Linked DNA regions of Homo sapiens: region 1 is linked to region 2. The links are contacts of gene promoters, found by promoter capture Hi-C in human tissues and cell types (Jung and others, 2019). All regions are on one chromosome and are shown on one strand. Each heading gives the region's core, a stretch centred on a gene start or on the middle of the fragment in contact. The rest is flanking DNA. Distances are from core to core; before and after follow the strand shown. Region 1 holds the start of IGFLR1 (IGF like family receptor 1). Region 2 holds the start of GRAMD1A (GRAM domain containing 1A).

The links. Contacts are between HindIII fragments. The study calls those that stand out against the background at their distance.
Region 1: the fragment with the promoter of IGFLR1 here is called in contact with the fragment with the promoter of GRAMD1A in region 2 in 1 of the 25 tissues and cell types used here (spleen).

Annotation. Positions count from the first base shown.
Region 1 is chr19:35,740,415-35,744,169 of GRCh38, reverse strand. It overlaps IGFLR1 (IGF like family receptor 1), which reads left to right and starts at 1,718. Exons shown (of 5, transcript NM_024660.4): 1 at 1,718-1,774; 2 at 2,947-3,146; 3 at 3,606-3,755. The coding sequence starts at 2,990. U2AF1L4 (U2 small nuclear RNA auxiliary factor 1 like 4) reads left to right here. Exons shown (of 6, transcript NM_001040425.3): 4 at 25-158; 5 at 266-361; 6 at 1,367-1,643. The coding sequence ends at 1,451. RefSeq lists silencers at 40-200, 3,503-3,632 and enhancers at 1,536-1,965, 3,313-3,422. The HindIII fragment of the contact is 13,678 bases long and covers 1-3,755 here.
Region 2 is chr19:34,998,059-35,001,795 of GRCh38, reverse strand. GRAMD1A (GRAM domain containing 1A) reads right to left here and starts at 1,473. Exons shown (of 20, transcript NM_020895.5): 1 at 1,310-1,473. The coding sequence starts at 1,317. RefSeq lists silencers at 859-988, 1,259-1,638 and an enhancer at 3,413-3,737. The HindIII fragment of the contact is 31,318 bases long and covers 1-3,737 here.

The DNA.
Region 1 (3,755 bases), core at 469-2,968, 740 kb before region 2:
GACCCTGACTGACATTTCCTGCAGTTCCGGAGGGAGGAGGATGGAGAGCGGGCCGTGGCTGAACTCAGTAACCGCTGGTTCAACGGGCAGGCTGTGCACGGTGAGCTGTCTCCTGTCACTGACTTCCGGGAGTCATGCTGTCGCCAGTATGAGATGGGGTATGGTAGTTCAAGGGTGGGATGGGCACTTGGAATCCCAGACTTTGAATGCGTGGTAGGGGCTGTCAGTGACAATGGCTTCCTCCATCTCTCTACCCTCTATGCAGGGAATGTACCCGAGGTGGCTTCTGCAACTTCATGCATCTGCGGCCCATTTCCCAGAACCTCCAGAGGCAGCTCTATGGGCGGGGACCCAGGCGCAGGTACCTCAGGACCAGCCTGCTATGTCTCCTCATGTCCTAAGGCCCCTATATCCTCAGATGAGCCTAACCCTAAGCCCCAGTAACCACGTTCCCAAGAATCTTTTTTTTTTTTTTTTTTTTTTGAGATGGAGCCTCACTCTGTTGCCCAGGCTGGAGTGCATTGGCACCATCTTGGTTCATGGCAACTTCCGCCTCCCGGGTTCAAGCAATTCTCTGCCTCAGCCTCCCAAATAGCTGGGATTACAGGCACCTGCCACCATGCCCGGCTAATTTTTGTGTTTTTAGTAGAGATGGGGTTTCACCATCTTGGCCAGGCTGGTCTGAACTCCTAACCTCGTGATCCACCTGCCTCACCCTCCCAAAGTGCTGGGATTACAGGCGTGAGCCACCACTCCCGGCTGACTGTTTTTTTTTTTTTTTTTTTTTTTTTTTTTTGAGACGGAGTTTTGCTCTTCTTCCGCAGGCTGGAGTGCAAAGGCGCAGTCTTGGCTCAGTGCAACCTCTGCCTCCCAGGTTCAAGCAATTCTCCTTTCTCAGCCTCCCAAGTAGCTGGGATTATAGGCACCTGCCACCATGCCTGGCTAATTTTTGTATTTTTAGTAGAGATGGGGTTTCACCACGTTGGCCAGCCTGGTCTCGAACTCCGGACCTCAGGTAATCCACCCATCTCGGCCTCCCAAAGTGTGGGGATTACAGGCGTGAACCACTGCGCCCGGTCATTCCCAAGACTCTTATACCCTAAGAGTAGTTCTGAGCTCCATCTGGAGACCAGTACCTAAGTCCCAATCCCCAAACCAGCCTGAACCCCTAATCCACGACCAGCCTGGATTGCCACCCCTGATACTGGCCACTGAGTTCCCCTGATACTGGCCACTGAGGTCGTGTCTTAGAACTCTAGTTATTTCAGCACCCTCCTGCCTCATCCCAGAGCAGAGAGGCAGGCCTGCAGGATCTCTGCACCACTCCTCAGGGTTCTAACAGAACTCTCAACGCTCCTATTCCCAGGTCACCCCCGAGGTTCCATACTGGCCACCATCCCCGAGAGAGGAACCATCGGTGTTCCCCTGATCACTGGCATGGCCGCTTCTGAGGCCCTGGCCCCCTTACCCTTCACCCCCAACAGGGACAGATGTTCCTGGCAGGACCTCTCCTCAAAGCCCCCTTCACTCTCCTGCCCCATCCTTCCCAGGCTCCCGGGCTCCATAATGTAATCTGTTCAGCATGGAGACCTTCTTCTACCGCCCCTGTCTTAATAAAGCTGCGTGTTTCACTTCGGCATCAACTTGCTTTTGCTGTGGTTTGGCATTTCCCTCCACCCACACATGTGACGAAAAGGGGAAACAAGACTGGGTCCTGGCCACAACTTCAGCTGAGGAACTTGGCACGGCCAGCTTGGGACCCAGGACCCTAACGGTACTGGTAGGGTGGGGACACCTTTGTGCTGAAAACCTTAGCACCTCCATCTGAGGCTTATTCAAGGGGGAGAGACCTGGTTGTGGCAGGTGGGAGGAGCCCTAGCCCCAAGGAGATTAGGATTCAAAGGTGAGGTGAGGTGCTGGGAGGTGGTCTCCAGCCAGTATGGGGCTGACTCCTCCGTGCCTGCCGAATTGTGATGGGAGTTAGTAATGCCTTACACTTAAACACTGAGTTTACTGTATGTGAGGTGCTGTTTTCAGCACTTTAGTTTGTTTTTGTTTTTTTTAAGGAGTTTCATTCCTGTTGCCCAGGCTGGAGTGCAATGGCACGATCTCAGCTCACTGCAGCCTCCACTTCCCAGGTTCAAGCAATTCTGCCTCAGCCTCCCAAGTAGCTGGGATTTACAGGCATGCGCTACCACGCCCGGCTAATTTTGTATTTTTAATAGAGACAGGGTTTCACCATGTAGGCCAGGCTGGTTTTGAACTACTGACCTCAGGTGATCCACCCACCTGGGCCTCCCAAAGTGTTGGGATTACAGGCATGAGCCACTGCGCCCGGCGGCCAGTTTTTTTTGTTTTTAGAGATGAGGTCTTGCTGTGTTGCCCAGGCTGGTCTGTAATTCATGGCTCAAGCAATCCTCCTACCTTGGCCTCCCTAGTAGCAGGGACTACAGACGTGAGCCACTGCACTTGGCAAAGTGCTTTGCTGTTTTTTTTTTTTTTTTTTTTTTTTGTAAAGATGGGGTTTCATTTTGTTGTCCAGGCTGATCTCTCGAACTCCTGGGCTCAAGTGATCCTCCTGTCTTGGCCTCCCAAAGTGTTGGGATTACAGGCATGAGCCACCACACCCAGCCCCTGCTTTACTTCTAATGACGGTTCTAATTCTCCACAATAACCCTATGAGACAGGTGCTATCATTGTCTTATTTTAGGGATGGAAAAGGGAGGGTGGGTGGGTGAGGACACGGCAGAGGTGGGATATGCATTCTTGCAATCTAGATCCGCAGCCCTGTTAGTCCCCTAGTGGCCTTGTGGGCTTCTCTGATAACCGGCTCAGTTGGGGGATGAGGGCTCGGGGGTAGATTCCCGGCTTCCGAAGAGGCGTGAGAATTCTGTTCCCCCACATCACCGCGTCCTTTCTTCTGCCCGATTTCCCCGGAAAGTGTAGCAGAGGCGCTGTGTTTGGAAGTCCCGCTATCACGGCCCCCCAGATGGGGCCTGGACGATGCCTCCTGACGGCCTTGTTGCTTCTGGCCCTGGCGCCACCGCCGGAAGCCTCCCAGTACTGCGGCCGCCTTGAATACTGGAACCCAGACAACAAGTGCTGCAGCAGCTGCCTGCAACGCTTCGGGCCGCCCCCCTGCCCGGGTGAGAATCCGAGACCGAGCCTTGCTTGGGCGGAGCTTGCAGGTGATAGGGAGCGGGGAAGGGGCGAGGTCTGTGGGCTACGGGCCAGAGAGGCTTGCTTAGGGGTCTAAGCGGTGGGCCTTATGCAGATCAGACAGGGATGGCAGGCAGAGCCTGTGCAGATAGTGCGGGCTACCGTAGGGCAACAGCGAATGGATATGGCTGGAGAGGCGGGATAGGGGCCGCGTGGAAAGGGTGGGCTTTATGTAGAGAAGCCGGGAGTGGGCGGAGCTTCGTGCGGAGCAGGCTGGAGGGGGGTGAAAAGGCGAGCCCGGAGAAAAGTGACAAGACCGGGGCGCACGCTAATAGGCTGGAAGCGTCCTGGAGGGGCGGGGCACGCTGGGATAGGGCGAAGGGAGAGGGCGTTGCCCGCGCAGGGGCGGGCTAGGCGGCCGCACTGGAGCGCAGCTTTCCCGCTAGACTATGAGTTCCGGGAAAACTGCGGACTCAATGACCACGGCGATTTCGTAACGCCCCCGTTCCGAAAGTGTTCTTCTGGGCAGTGCAACCCCGACGGCGCGGAGCTATGTAGCCCCTGCGGCGGCGGAGCCGTGACCCCTACTCCCGCCG
Region 2 (3,737 bases), core at 224-2,723:
TCTCTACTAAAAATACAAAACTTAGCCAGGCGTGGTGGCACACGCCTGTAATCCCAGCTACTCAGGAGGCTGAGGCAGGAGAATTGCTTGAACCCAGCAGGAGGAGGTTGCAGTGGGCCGAGATCGTGCCACTGCACTCTAGCCTGGGCGACAGAGCCAGACTCTATTTCAAAAGAAAAAAAAAAAAAGAAGAGCGTTTCAGAGCTAAATTACAGGCATATGCAGGCACAGAGGGTCATGGTAGAACCCAGAGCCCCAGGCACACTTGTACACACACCACTAAGTCACAATGGGACGCACACTGGTAACTTACAGCAACGCTTGGAGCTACAGATAGAATTAATGGTAAAACACACACAGCCCAAGAAGGATCAGAGCTGCTACACACGGTAACTCCAGACACATGTACAAACACTCCAACGTCACACTCAGACACACAGGGGTAATTTATATTTGCACAGGGAGCTACAGATGGAATGAGACACAACACGCACACAACCAGCTGCTCACAGCCACAGATTTGGAGCCCCAGACACACACAGGTAACTTACAGTGACACACAGAGCCGCGGTCAGAATTAGTGGTTAAGTTACACGCAGGAACTCTATCAGAGGCCCAAAGCTGCTGCAGGCTAGCAGCCCCAGACACACGTACACACACTTGCAAGACAATTCACAGTCGGAAGCACATGCGCCCACCTGGACCGGAAGGGGAGTAAGAAGTCAATTCCGAGCACACAGGACCCCCCGCCCTCCATGACCTCAAGCACGCGGTCCTGGAGAGACGCAGGAAGCCCCCACCCCCGGCAGCCCCGAGACCCGCAACAGCCAAGGACGGTGGGAGGGGGCCCAGGCAGGAGGGGGCTGCCTACTCCCGGCGCGCCCAGGGCTCCGCGGCCTGTGGGCCTGGGCTGGTCCCGATCCTGTCTCCATCCCAGGCCGGAGCCCCAGTTCGGCCTCGCGCTCACCCCTGGCTTACCAGGCAGGGGGTTGCCAGGCCTGAGGGCCCTCCCCGCCAGATGAACCCGCGGGCCCCCAGCCAAACCCCGCAACCCAGTGCGTCGCGGGCCGGCAGTGGCGACCCAGACCCCGGGCCCTGCCCTGCGTCCGCGCCCCACTCCCCAGCTGCACCCCTCGCCCGGGGGCCCCCTGCCCCGCCCCCACCCCGATCGCCCCGGCCAGAGCCATGTGCAGAGGCCCCCGACCTCTGCAGCGGCCGCTCCGCCCCCTCCCCAAGCCCGCGGCGCCCCCTCCCTCCGGTGGCCTCCCCCGCGCGCCCGGTCCCTGAGCTCTAGTCGCCCGGTCCTTACTCGAACATGGATGCGGCGCGGTGGGCGCGCCCCGGGCGCAGGGCAGGGCAGGGCAGGGCAGGGCTGGGCTGCGCGGGGCTGGGCTGCGCTGGGCGTCCCCGCAGGGCACCGGCCTGGCCTTCCGCGGCCGCCGCCCCCACCCGACCCAACCGCCCGCACAAAAGGCCGGAGCCGCCGGAGGCCGCCGCGGCGTCAGCGACACCCCCTTCCTTCCCCCGCCCCGCCGCGTCACGGCGCCGCCCCCAGCCCGGGAGGGAAGGCGGGGAGGGGCCGCAGAGGCCTAGAAGGAGGGAGAAGCCGGGGAGAGAGGGACTGGACAGAGAAGGGAAAGCAGAGGGGCAGAGAGACAGAGAAGGAAACAAAGAGACTTTATTAAAACCAAACATCGTGGAGGCAGCTGCCTGCCCGCAGGTTGGGGAGCCCCCTCCCCTAGTACCTAGAAAAGGGTCCCTAGCAACTACTATGCCCCTGGCCAGAAGCTCCTGGACCTCCCAGGGAGGAACCTGAGAGCCGGGGCGAAGGTGGGGGAGGACTGGAGATGCTGGGAAACCGAGGTGTATGTATGGGGGAGGGGGCCTGAAGCTGGCGGGAAGGGGTGGGGCCGGTTGGCCGCCTCCTCCTTCCCTCTCCCAGTCTCTGAGCCCGGGTTCCTGGTCCCAGGAGGTCCGGTGCCTCCGTTTCTAGGGACTTCCCAGTTTTGGTCAGCCAGGCCAAGTACCAAGTCAGAATCCAGCCTCCCTGGCTCTTATCTGTGCTGAGACCTTGCGCTCATCACCCCAGTGCTGGGAGTCCCACTAACTCGGTGGTAAGGGCTTTTCCCGGGGACAGCGCAGGAACGGGCAAAATCAGTCCTTTTACGGAAGGAGAAGCCCGGCCTCTAAGATGGGAAGTGACTTGTTGGGGTCACCTGGTAGGTAGGCGGCAGAGTTGGATTCGATCCTGCTCTGACGCCATAACCTGCGTCCCCCCTCCCCCGCCCCGTCTGCAAGAGGTCAGAGTCAGGTGGTGTCCTGGACTCCTGGCCCAACCACACAGAAATGCGAGTCCCACCTCACAGCTCCGGGGCTGTGGCTCCCCAGCGCTCTCCAGGGTACGCTGTCCCCGCCTCTTTTGAAAAAACTCCCTTCCCAACCCTCTCCATCAACCCTTCCCCTCCTCCTGCAAAAGAAGCCCACCTGACTTCTCCATTTTGATGAATGGCAGGCCCAGAACTTCAGAGTCTTTTCTGACCCTCTCTTTTCCTTCACACCACATCCAATCCGTCACAAACTGTGGGCTCCACGTATAAAATCAATCGCTCCATTCTAAACTCTTCTTCCTCCGCTGCCCACGCCCTGGCCCAGCCTCCATCCTCTCCTGCCTGATCTCCCTGCTCCCATCCCTGCCCCTACTGTCTGTTCTCACCTGCAGCCAGAGAGAGCCTGGGACCACCTGAGTCAGTTAACTACCCTCCTGGCTCAGAGCCCTGCCCCAGCTGTACCTCACTCCAGGTAAAAGCAAAGTCCTCACCTTGGCACCCAAGGCCCCTGTCAGCTCTCTGACTTCAGCTCCTCATCTCCCCCTGGCTCACACCCCCCATCCAGCCTACCCGCTGTTCTTCTAACTCACCAGGCACCTTCCTGCCTCCTACCCCAAGACCTTTGCACTGGTTATTCCCTCTGCATGGACAGCACCCCCCCTATCGCCGTGCCCTACCTCTCATGCTAACCCCCACCTCTAAAACCCCCATCCACCATCTGACATTTGCTGCCTCCCACCGGCCAATGGAAGAGAGGCCCTCCTCCCACCACCTTCCTCTGTCCAACTGATCTCTTTAGATTTCTCTTTGGTCTGTTTCTTCTAGTGTAATGCTTTTAGTTTTTTAATTAAATAATATTTATTTCAGGTCAGGCGCGTTGGGTCACGCCTGTAATCCCAGCACTTTGGGAGGCCAAGGAGGGTGGATCACCTATCAGGAGTTCGAGACCAGCCTGGCCAACAGAGTGAAACCCCATCTCTATCAAAAATACAAAAAAATTAGCCAGGTGTAGTGGCTTGCACCTGTAATCCCAGCTACCCAGGAAGCTGAGGCAGGAGAATTGCTTGAACCCGGGAGGTGGAAGTTGCAGTGAGCCAGGATCGCACCACTGCGCTCCAGCCTGGACAACAGAGCAAGACTCCATCTCAAAAAAAAAAAAAAAAAAAAAAAGGAAGAAAATATAACAGTCCTCTATGTCCCCTGTACCTATATAGAATAGATGTGGACATTTTGCCATTTTGCTTCAGGTCCTTTTTTTAAAAGAAATAAATGATTACACTTACAACCAAAGGCCTGGCTCCCCATCCCTCCTTTCCCTTCCCGTGCCCCCCAAGGAGCCTTCTGCCTGCCATGCAGTTGGTGTGTTTCCTTCCTGCGCTTTTTTTTTTTTTTTTTTTTGAGACAAGGTCT